2 separate regions of the Homo sapiens genome follow, and region 1 is linked to region 2. Evidence: promoter capture Hi-C in 16 types of primary human blood cells and fetal thymus (Javierre and others, 2016). All regions are on one chromosome and are shown on one strand. The core of a region is centred on a gene start or on the middle of the fragment in contact, and the rest is flanking DNA. Distances in the headings are between cores, read along the strand shown. Region 1 has its middle 11 kb from the start of OXT. Region 2 holds the start of SLC4A11 (solute carrier family 4 member 11).

Region 1 (5,467 bases), core at 706-3,205, 180 kb before region 2:
AGGAGACATGTTGCATGGTGAACCTCTGAATTTTGGAGTCAACACTGGCCACATTTGAATGTTCTGCTCGTCAGGACTAGAAGTGCTGCCAGCTTTGAGGGGCATTTAGGGCAAGAGAAGACAGCTTAAGAGATCCAGTTGCAAGGCAGGCCACTCTGTACTTTGGGCCTTATGATCCAGTAGATCCAGTAGAACTGGTACTCAAGATGTCCACAGTTAACCAGAATGCTATGTGGACCTGTAGTAAGCTTCAGTGGATACTCACATCAGAAGTCCCTTGGGTTTGTTTTTTGTTTTTTGTTGTTGTTGTTTGTTTGTTTTCCTTTTTTATGTTGAGACGGAGTATCATTCTGTCACCCAGGCTGGAGTGCAGTGGAGTGATCTCGGCTCACTGCAACCTCCGCCTCCCAGGCTCAAGCAATTCTCCTGCCTCAGCCTCCTGAGTAGATGGAACTACAGGTGTGCACCACCACACCTGGCTAATTTTTGTATTTTTAGTAGAGAGGGGTTTCACCATGTTGGCCAGGCTAGTCTCGAACTCCTGACCTCAGGTGATCCTCCCACCTCGGCCTCCCAAAGTGCTGGGATTACAAGTGTGAGAAAATATATACTTTTTTTGTTTGTTTGTTTGTTTGAGACAGAGTTTTGCTCTTGTCACCCAGACTGGAGTGCAGTGACATGATCTCGGCTCACTGCAACCTCCATCTCCTAGGTTCAAGCAATTCTCCTGCCTCAGCCTCCCAAGTAGCTGGGATTACAGACGCCCACCACCATGCCCAGCTAATTTTTGTATTTTTAGTGGAGGGTTTCAACATGTTGGCCAGGCTAGTCTTGAACTCCTGGCCTCAAGTGATCCGCCCACCTTGGCCTCTCAAAGTGCTGGGATTACAGGCGTGGGCCACCGTGCCCGGCTGAGTATACTCTATTTTTATTTGTCAATTATACCTCAATAAAGCTGGGGGAAAAAAACTGAAAAAATACTGGTCATGAATTATTTTTCTTTGGTGGGGCTACCATTCTCTCCCACTCCACTGGCTGTGTGGAAATAGCCCACACATCGGTTGCAGGTGCAGAGGACATCTGAGGACAGGCTCGCCCTGCCCACCACCATTGCCACTGGTGCCCGAGCATGCCTTCCAGGGCCTGGGGATCAATCCATCCTATCTGCCACTGCCAGTGCCCATGCACACCATCTGGGGGGCTGAAAACAGGCCTGCCCTGCCCTTCACCACCACCATTGCTGCCAGCACCTGTGCACATCATCCAGGGGCCTGAGATTCAATCTGCCCAGCCCACCACCATCACCACCCGTGTGCACCATCCAGGGGCCTAAGGGTCCCACCCTACCTACTGATGTCAATGCTAGTACCCATGCATGTCATCCAGGGGTCTGGGGGTTGACCTGCACTGTCAGCACACATGCACGCCTTCCAGGGACCTGAGGATGGGCTCACCCCACCTACTGCTGCCGTCCATGTGTACTGTCCAGAGACCTAGGGATTGATCCACCCACTTCACTGCCACTGGTGTGCATGCCACACATGCACACTGTCCAGGAGCCCAAGGACAGGTCCACCTTGCCTACCACTGATTCCTGTGTGCATCTCCCAGAGGCCCAGGCACTGGCCCACCCAGCCTGCTGCTGCCAGTCAGTACCAGCACGCCACCCAGGGGCCTGGGGACTGGCCCAAACAGATTGCTGTTACCACCACCCTGTCCAAAAAAAAAAAAGACCCAATTGTATGCTGCCTATCAGAAATTCACTTCACCCGTAAAGACACACATAGACTGAAAATGAATAGATGAAAAAAAAATTCCATGCAATTCCATAAAATTGGGGAAAAAATGACTGTTATAAGTGACTGATATCCTGCATGCTTTTATTTATTTATTTATTTATTTTTTGAGACGGAGTTTCGTTCTTGTTGCCCAAGCTGGAGTGCAATGGTGCGATCTTGGCTTACTGCAACCTCTGCCTCCTGGGATTACAGGCACCCGCCACCACACCCAGCTAATTTTTGTATTTTTAGTAGAGACGGGGTTTCACCATGTTGGCCAGGCTGTACTTGAACTCCTGACCTCAGGTGATCTGCCTGCCTCTGCCTCCCAAAGTGCTGGGATTACAGGTGTGAGCCACCACACCGGCCTTGCATGCTTTCAGTTTCCAATCATTTGGAAGCCAAAATTATTGGAACAGTCATTAATAGCCTACTATATAACAACAAATGCCTACATCAAAAAAAGTAGGAAGACTTCAAGTAAACAACCTCATGATGCTCCTCAAGGAGCTAGAAAAGCAAGAATAAACCAAACCCAAAGGAAAGAAACATAAAGATCAGAGCAGAACTAAACAGAATAGAGACTAAAAAAGGGAAACAAAGGGTCAATGAAATAAAAACTTGTTTTTTAAAAAATATAAACAAAATCCACAAACCTGTGCTTGGTGTGTGAGAAAAAAAAAAAAAAAATCAATAAGCCACTACCAGGACTAACCTAGAAAAAAAGAGAGAAGACCCAAATAAAATTAGAAATGAGAAAGGAGACATACAACTGATATCACAGAAATACAAGGGATCATTAGAAACTATTATGAACAACTATACACTAACAAATTGGAAACCCTAGAGGATATCTATGAATTCCTGGACACAAACAACCTACCAAGATTGAACCAGGAAAAAAATAGAAAACCTGAAGAGATCAATGATGAGTAACCACATTGAATCAATAATTAAAAGTCTCTCAACAGAGAAAAGCTCAGGACCAGATGGCTTTACTGTGGAATTCTACCAATTTATAAAGAACTAACACCCATTCTTCTCAAACTATTCCTAAAAATTGAAGAGAATTTTTTTCTAACTCATTCTATGAGGCCAGCGTTACCCAGACACCAAAACCAGACTAGGACACACACAACAACAAAAGAAAACTACAGGCCAATATACCTGATAAACATAGATGCAAAAATCCTCAACAAAATACAGTTGATCCTTGAAGAATGTGGAGGCTATGGATGCCAAAACCCTGCACACTAGAAAATTCACATATAACGTTTGACCCCCCCAAAACTTAATTACTAATAATTAAGTGAAAGGCCTTTACAATGAAAACTATAAGACACTGATAAAAAAAAATTGAAGTCCGGGCGCCGTGGCTCACACCTGTAATCCCAGCACTTTGGGAGGCTGAGGCGGGTGGATCACAAGGTCAGAAGTTCGAGACCAGCCTGGCCAAGATGGTGAAACCCCATCTCTACTAAAATAAATAAAAAATTAGCCGGGCGTGGTGGCAGGCGCCTGTAGTCCCAGCTACTCCGGAGGCTGAGGCAGGAGAATTCCTTGAACCTGGGAGGCGGAGGTTGCAGTGAGCCGAGATCGTGCCACTGCACTCTAGCCTGGGCGACAGAGCAAGACTCCATCTCAAAAAAAAAAAAAAAAAGAAAAAAAATTGAAAAGGATACAAACAAATGGAAAGGCATCCCATGCTCATGGATTGGAAGAGTATTGTTAAATGACTGTACTACTCAAAGCAATCCACAGATTCAGTGCAATCCCTATCAAAATACCAATGACATTCTTCACAGAAATAGAAAAAACAATCTGAAAATTTGTATGGAACCACAAAAGATACTTAATAGCCAAAGCAATAATGAGCAAAAAGAACAAAGCTTAGAGGTACCACACCACCTGACTTCAAAATTTACTACAAAGGTGTAGTAATCAAAACAGCAGGCTATTGGTATAAAAATAGACACAGACCAATAGAACAGACTGGAGAATCCAGAAATAAATCCATGTGTTTACAGTCAACTGATTTTTGACAAAGGCATCATGAACAAACACTGGGGAAAGAACATCCTCTTTAATAAATGATGCTGGGAAAACAGGATATCCATAGGTAGAAGAATAAAACTAGACCCCTATCTCTCACAATGTACAAAACTCAACTCAAAATGGCTTAAAGACAAACATAAGACCTGAAACTATAAATCTACTAGAAGAAAACATAGGGAAAACACTTCAGGACGTTGGTCCAGGTAAAGATTTTATGGCTAAGACTTCAAAAGCACAGTCAACAACAACAACAACAACAAAATAGACAAATGGGAATACAGTCAACTAAAAAGCTTCTGAACAGCAAAGGAAGCAATCAACAGAAACAACCTGTAGAACAGGAGGAAATCTTTACAAACCATTCATCTGACAAGGGGCTAATATTCAGAATATACAAGGAATTCAAACAACTCAGCAGCAAAAACATAAACAATCCCAGTAAAAAGTGGGCAAAGGGCTGGGCGCGGTGGCTCACGCCTGTAATCCCAGCACTTTGGGAGGCCGAGGTGGGCGGATCATAAGGTCAGGAATTTGAGACCAGCCTGGCCAATAGGGTGAAACCCCGTCTCTACTAAAAATACAAAAAATTAGCCGGGCCTGGTGGTGTGCGCTTGTAATCCCAGCTACTCGGGAGGCTGAGGCAGGAGAATTGCTTGAACCTGGGAGGCAGAGGTTGCAGTGAGCCAAGATCATGCCTTTGCACTCCAGCCTGGGTGACAAAGCGAGACTGTCTCAAAAAAAAAAAAAAAAAAAAAAAAGTGGCCAAAGGATCTGAATAGATATCTCAAAAGAAGACACGCATGCTTGAGCCTAGAAGTTGGAGGTTATAGTGAGCTATGATCGTGCCACTGTACTCCAGCCTGGGCAACAAAGTGAGACTCTGTCTCTAAAAAATAAAATAAAAGGCCGGGCACAGTGGCTCACACCTATAATCCCAGCACTTTGGGAGGCCAAGGCGGGCAGATCACAAGATCAGGAGATGGAGACCATCCTGGCTAACACGGTGAAACCCCATCTCTACTAAAAAATACAAAAAAAATTAGCCAGTCGTGGTGGCAGGCGTCTGTAGTCCCAGCTACTCAGGAGGCTGGGGCAGGAGAATGGCGTGAACCCGGGAGGCGGAGCTTGCAGTGAGCCAAGATTGGGCCACTGCACTCCAGCCTGGGTGACAGAGCGAGACTCCATCTCAAAAAATAAATAAATAAATACCCTGCCCGGCCGCCGCCCCGTCTGGGAGGTGTACCCAACAGCTCATTGAGAACGGGCCATGATGACGATGGCGGTTTTGTCGAATAGAAAAGGGGGAAATGTGGGGAAAAGAAAGAGAGATCAGATTGTTACTGTGTCTGTGTAGAAAGAAGTAGACATAGGAGACTCCATTTTGTTCTGTACTAAGACAAATTCTTCTGCCTTGGGATGCTGTTAATCTATAACCTTACCCCCAACCCCGTGCTCTCTGAAACATGTGCTGTGTCCACTCAGGGTTGAATGGATTAAGGGCGGTGCAAGATGTGCTTTGTTAAACAGATGCTTGAAGGCAGCAGGCTCCTTAAGAGTCATCACCACTCCCTAATCTCAAGTACCCAGGGACACAAACACTGCGGAAGGCCGCAGGGTCCTCTGCCTAGGAAAAC
Region 2 (5,372 bases), core at 2,763-5,262:
CATTGGGGCAGGCACGGAGTGCAATAATGCAGATGAGACTGCCTGGCCCCTGCCCTCCCAAAGTAGGGAACACAGGGAAGGCAGAGAAGCTGCAGTATCCACGTCTCTCTCTCTCTCTCTCTCTCTCTCTCTCACACACACACACACACACACACACACACACACACACACACACACGCTGCCTTGTGGGCACAGGGTCTTAGAGCTCCGCCTCCCCAGGAGGGCAGGTGGGGAGAAGCATCGAGGCTGAGAGACCCAGGACAGGTATCAGACAAGGTCTAGGGAGCAGGAAAACCAGGGAAACAGAGCCAGGGGCTGACAGGGGAGAGGACCCCAAGGCCTCATGTCAGCCCTGCCCCCATCGTGCTCCTCTTCATGTTCTGGGGGCCCTGGGTAAGGGCACATGGAGAGTGAGGGTGTGTAATGGCACCTGTGGGATGTGGGACCCCAGAGGTGAGAGCCTGCTCCCCTTGGTCCTCAATTCCTGCAGCTGGCCAGCAGCACACCCCTCTTCCTACAGGAAGATTTCCTGGTAACATGCAAATATTCCTCTGCCCTGAGCCCTGCAGTGGCTCCCTGCAGCCTACAGATCACAGCCTGAGCCAGCCCTGCTCCCCCTGCCCTGACCACTGGCTCCTCAGGCCATCCGGTCAGCACCCTAGGCATGCAAGGTCCTGTCCTCCAAGCTGAGGGCTTCCCTCCCTGGAGGGCCTTTTTCAAGACTCACTTGGAACCTCCTCCTCCAGGAAGTCCTCCTAGATCCCTGCCTCACCCCTGGCCACTGGCAGCCCTTCCTGTCTTGTGGGTCCCCTAAGGTTCCTCACTTGTAGGTACTCCCAGGAAAGGGGCCCTTATAGCCCAGACCCCACTGATGCCTGACAGACACCTGTGCAGAAACAAGGATGGGTCAGCAGCACGCCTGCACCTGCCAGGGAGTGACTCACCCTGACTCACTTCTACTCCCGCCGCCAGTTTCCTTGGCACATCCCAGGCCCTGTTCCCCCAGTGTCCTGAGTTTAGCCTGGGCCCCTTCTGGGTAGGAAGCCCTAGTGCCTCCTGCATCAAAGTCCCCAGGGACTGGTGACTCCCAGGCCCAGGCCTGCACTACCTCCAGAGCCCAGAGAAGAAATATTAGGTCAAAAGACATCCTTGCCTTTGGGAGGCCAAGGCAGGCGGATCACGAGGTCAGGAGATCGAGACCATCCTGGCTAACAATGGCTAACATGGTGAAACCCTGTCTCTACTAAAAATACAAAAAGAAATTAGCCGGGTGTGGTGGCGGGCGCCTGTAGTCCCAGCTACTCGGGAGGCTGAGGCAGGAGGCTGGTGTGAACCCAGGAGGCAGAGCTTGCAGTGAGCCGAGATCACACCACTGCACTCCAGCCTGGGCGACAGAGCGAGACTCAAAACAAAACAAAACAAAACAAAACAAAACAAAAGACGTCCTCACTGCTTTGGTTCTGGAGCTCATGATAAACTCCTTCCTCCCCGGGTCAGGCTTGCCTTGTTTAAACTGTCTGGTTCCCCTGGCCCGAACTTGTCCCAGCCTCCCCTCTGCCCCTCAACCAGCACCCACTAGTCCCCTCCACTGCCCTTCACACAGCCCCGTTCTTCCCCCATTCTTCCCCTGATGCCCTCAGCTCTACCTTAGACTTAGTGCTCAGGTCCCCTAGATTAAGGACCTGCCCAGCTGACACTACCAGGTTCCTGGGGGGCTCCTGCAATGCCAAGTCCTAGTCCCAGCCCCATACGTAACCTGCCCACCAGCAGCCTAGCACACAGAGCCCCATGTCCTGAGGGCTCTGGGTAAGGGAACATCAGCCCTGTGTCTACGCACTGCTCTACAAACAACCCTCGAATGGTCAGGTCACTCATGGGGCTAGGCACAGGACACAGCCTGAAGCCAGCCCAGAGACATGAGGAGGAAGACAGCTGGACTGGTACAAGCAGGGACAGCAGGAAGGTGCCCGAGGGACTGCAGCACAGAGGCCTTATATTTCTTTAAAGAGACAACGACAGATATTCCCTCCAGGGCTGGGTGAGGACAGAGGGACAGGGGCACACAGAATTCTTGGCCCAAGGCTAGTCAGATAACAGGCCATTGTCACAGAAAACCTTGGGTAAGAATCCCAGAGGGTTCACCTGGTCCAAGTAGCCCAGGAGAATGGGCAGCCTGCCCTCTCAGGTCCACGGGGGATCCGCCCATGTCTAGCTTCCCGAAGAGTGGAAGCCAAAAGCATTCCAGCACTAGAGTGGCCCAGATAGGCGAGCAAAGCCACAGGACTCTGGTGGGTAGGCTATGCACCCTGGAGGCTTTTGCCCGACAAGCTCTCTCTGCACACACACACTCCCCGAGAGGTACTCACTTGAATCCTCGAAGTATCCATTCTGCGACATGGTGGGAGAGTTTTCTGCAAGGGAAGCAGAAAGGTCACCAGCCCCATGGACCAAGCCCTGGACCTCCTGTGTGCACCTGTCTCCCCGCCCCCCGACCTGGCTCATTCCTTCGCTCTTCCGAGGGATGCAACCCACGCCACCCTAGGGAGAAAGGGAAGCAGGGGACAGTGCTCGGGAGGGGGCCCCATAGCAGGGGAAGCCAGCCTTAATCTCAGAAATTCAATTGCTTAGCCCATCTGCTAGGGGCTGCCCAGGCGGGCCAGAGGCGAGGAGGAGAGACGTTCCAGGGATGTCTTCCCACCGAGTTAGTACCAGTACCATGTTCGCTAATCCAGGTTTTCCTGAGAAAACCCTGCCCCGCTGCAGCGAGAGGAAGGGACCGGGCCCGAGCGGGCCTCTCCCCCTCTCTCCTCGGATGCCAAGGCGGGGGATCTCTCTGCACATCCCTCTTCTCACTCTCAGACCGGTCCTGGGGGCCATAAACGCCCATTGCAGGCGCAGTTCCCCCGACCCCCGTCACGCGCCCCGGGTCACACGGGGGCCGACAGGCAACGGTCTCCAGTCCTGGGACCGCGTCCCGGCCGCCTGGAAGCCAGAGCCGTTGGTCCAAAAGGGAGAACAATTGGGGGTGGGAGGAGTATCTGAGGGACACATGGGTCGGGGGAGGCTGCGCCCTCCCTGGGCCGGTCCCCGGATGGTCCCGGCTGTTTGTGCCTCGCTGTCGGAGGAAGGAAGCGACAGGAGGGGCCGCGTGCACGAGAGGAAAGCGCCTCCAGACTCGGAGACCCCGGGGGTCGGGGCGCAGGATGTGAATGCAGGCGCGGGGCGGGAGCCGGGGCTGCATCCTGAAGTGGGGGGCGGGGGCGCTGGGGCGCGTCCCAGGCCGTGGGCGACGAGGGTCTGGGAGGGTTGGGCCGGTGCACACTCCGCTTCCGTCCCGGCGGCCCACGTGCAGGTAAAGGGTCGTACAAACCTGGGTCCTGGCGGGGACCCAGGGCTGGCCCTCCCGTGTCAGAGCAAGGGAGAAACCGCTGCGGCCGCGCAGGGCACGGTCAGGGGTCCCGGGACTCCCAAAACTCCAGGGGTTCCGGGGCTCCCACCGCGGCGCCGGACGGGAAGATGCCCGGGCGGAAGGTAAAATGAGACCTTCCGAGGCGGCGGCCCGCCAGGCTCCCAAAAGCTCGGCGCTCGGGGCGCTGGGAGCCCCACAGCTCCGCCCTGCCCACTTTCGAGCTCCCCGCCCTCGACCCGCTGCATCAGCTGTTCAAACCTGGTAAGAAATTCAAGACGGCGACAGCAGAGCCCTAATGAAACCAAGCGCGCGGTGGCCGCGAAGCCGCGCCCGGGCCTCCCGCACCCGCGCCCTCCTCCCCGCGGCTGGGAATCCCGCAGCCCTCTCGCCCACCGGCCCCGGCCCGCGCAGGCAGACGGCATCCGCGTTCTCCCCGGGGTCCCCGACGGGAGACGGTGGCGGAGACCCGGGCGGCCTTCCCGCCGCGCCCCCGGGTTCAGGCACCCACCGCACGGCTGCAGATGGAACACGCGCCTGGTGGCCGCGGCCATGGCACACTCGCGCACTCACGGCCGGGCTCCTCACGCGGCGCTCCGGCGCTTCTGGACCCCAAACTCGGCGACTCGGGCGGGCCGGCGGCGGGAGCCGGCGACACACCCCCACGCCGCGCCTGGGTCCTAATGCCGCTCAGACGCCGCGCCCGGGCGCGGTAGGCAGAGCTGCCGAGGGCTGGGACCCGGCCGCCCGCCCCGCGCCCTCACCCGCGGGAGGCTGCTCCAGCCGGGCTGGGCTGCTCCCCGCCGCCCGCAGCTGCTGGGCCAAACCGAGTAGACCCGGCTCCTTCGAGCCTGTGCGCGCCGGACCCAGCAGACCCAGCGTCGCGAGTTTAGGGGCTGGACGGGGCCGGGGAGCTTCTGGGAAAACGTTCGACTGCGCCACGAGCCCACCGAGCTGTGCGACTGAGGCAGACCCCGGGAGGGCTTCCCCCGCGTCCGCTTTAAGTACGCGGCCGGCCCCTGTCTCCTCCTTTCGACCGGGGACCTCCGCAGGGCCACGCCCGCTGGCTGCCCCGCCTCCTGCATTTATCCCGGTAGCTCCGGCCGCAAGTCCTTCTCCTCCTCCTCCAGGAAGCGCGCCCCGACTGACTAGACGGACCTCCGTGCATTCCCCGGGCTACGCCCTCGCCCGCTGAGACGGCGCTCTCCGAGCTCGGCTGCTTTGGGTTTTCGCTGCGAGCCTCGCCAACTTATCTGCCAGCCTCTTCACGTCCTCGGCCTTCTATGAGGTCAAGGTCATGGTTCGCCCCCTTTTTCCTTCCCCAAATGGCCCTTGCGCCCTGTCCCCTTTCCTGGACCGGCTGCGACCCGCCCGGGGACGCGCCTTTTCGGGGCGCTTAGTCTCCTGCGAGTAGGGCGTGTGCGCGTGTGGGTGCGCGTGCTGCGATGCGATCCGGCAAATGCAGCTGACGAACCCCTGGCCTGATCCACGGTGGCTCCCAGTAGAAGGCTCTACAGCCCTTGGAAACGGAACACGCAGCTCCGTAAAGCGCTAACCAACCTCCCGACCCCTCCGGCCGCCATCGCTTTCCGGCTCAGCCGCGCTGGGACGGAGTCCTCGGCCACTGTGCCCTAACCATGGTAGAGGAACGGGGACAGGCCGGGGCAAGCCCACCTCTGCGAAGGAAGGGCTTCTGGCGCGTTGGGGAAGCCTCATGCATAGATTGGGTGAGTAAGGCTGGCCCAGTTCTCCTCCCGGCAAGATAAGAACGCATTAGGAGGGAAGCGCTGGAGTGCTCCTCTTGGCGACGGATGGCCTGGGGCTCTGCGACAGACTGAGTACCCCACCCTCCCCCAGCGCGACTCCAGGAGGCCTTGTGGAAGATCCCAACACCATGACCTGCAACTGACTTGGGGCTGGCCACATAGTATTTTAGCAGGGGTGACTCTGGAGAGACACCAGGTCA

What was found. The method cuts DNA at HindIII sites, captures the fragments that hold promoters and counts their contacts. A CHiCAGO score of 5 or more calls a contact.
Region 1: a fragment that was not itself captured here is called in contact with the fragment with the promoter of SLC4A11 in region 2 in 1 of 17 cell types (naive CD4 T cells); the score reaches 6.1 in naive CD4 T cells.

What each region holds. Positions count from the first base shown.
Region 1 is chr20:3,058,264-3,063,730 of GRCh38, forward strand. No RefSeq gene overlaps it. Among named protein-coding and RNA genes, the nearest start is that of OXT, 11 kb to the right of the region's middle. RefSeq lists enhancers at 852-1,353, 1,354-1,853. The HindIII fragment of the contact is 3,419 bases long and covers 247-3,665 here.
Region 2 is chr20:3,235,178-3,240,549 of GRCh38, forward strand. SLC4A11 (solute carrier family 4 member 11) reads right to left here and starts at 4,013. Exons shown (of 20, transcript NM_001174089.2): 1 at 3,918-4,013; 2 at 2,367-2,411. The coding sequence starts at 3,960. RefSeq lists silencers at 3,823-4,002, 4,103-4,262. The HindIII fragment of the contact is 32,660 bases long and covers 1-5,372 here.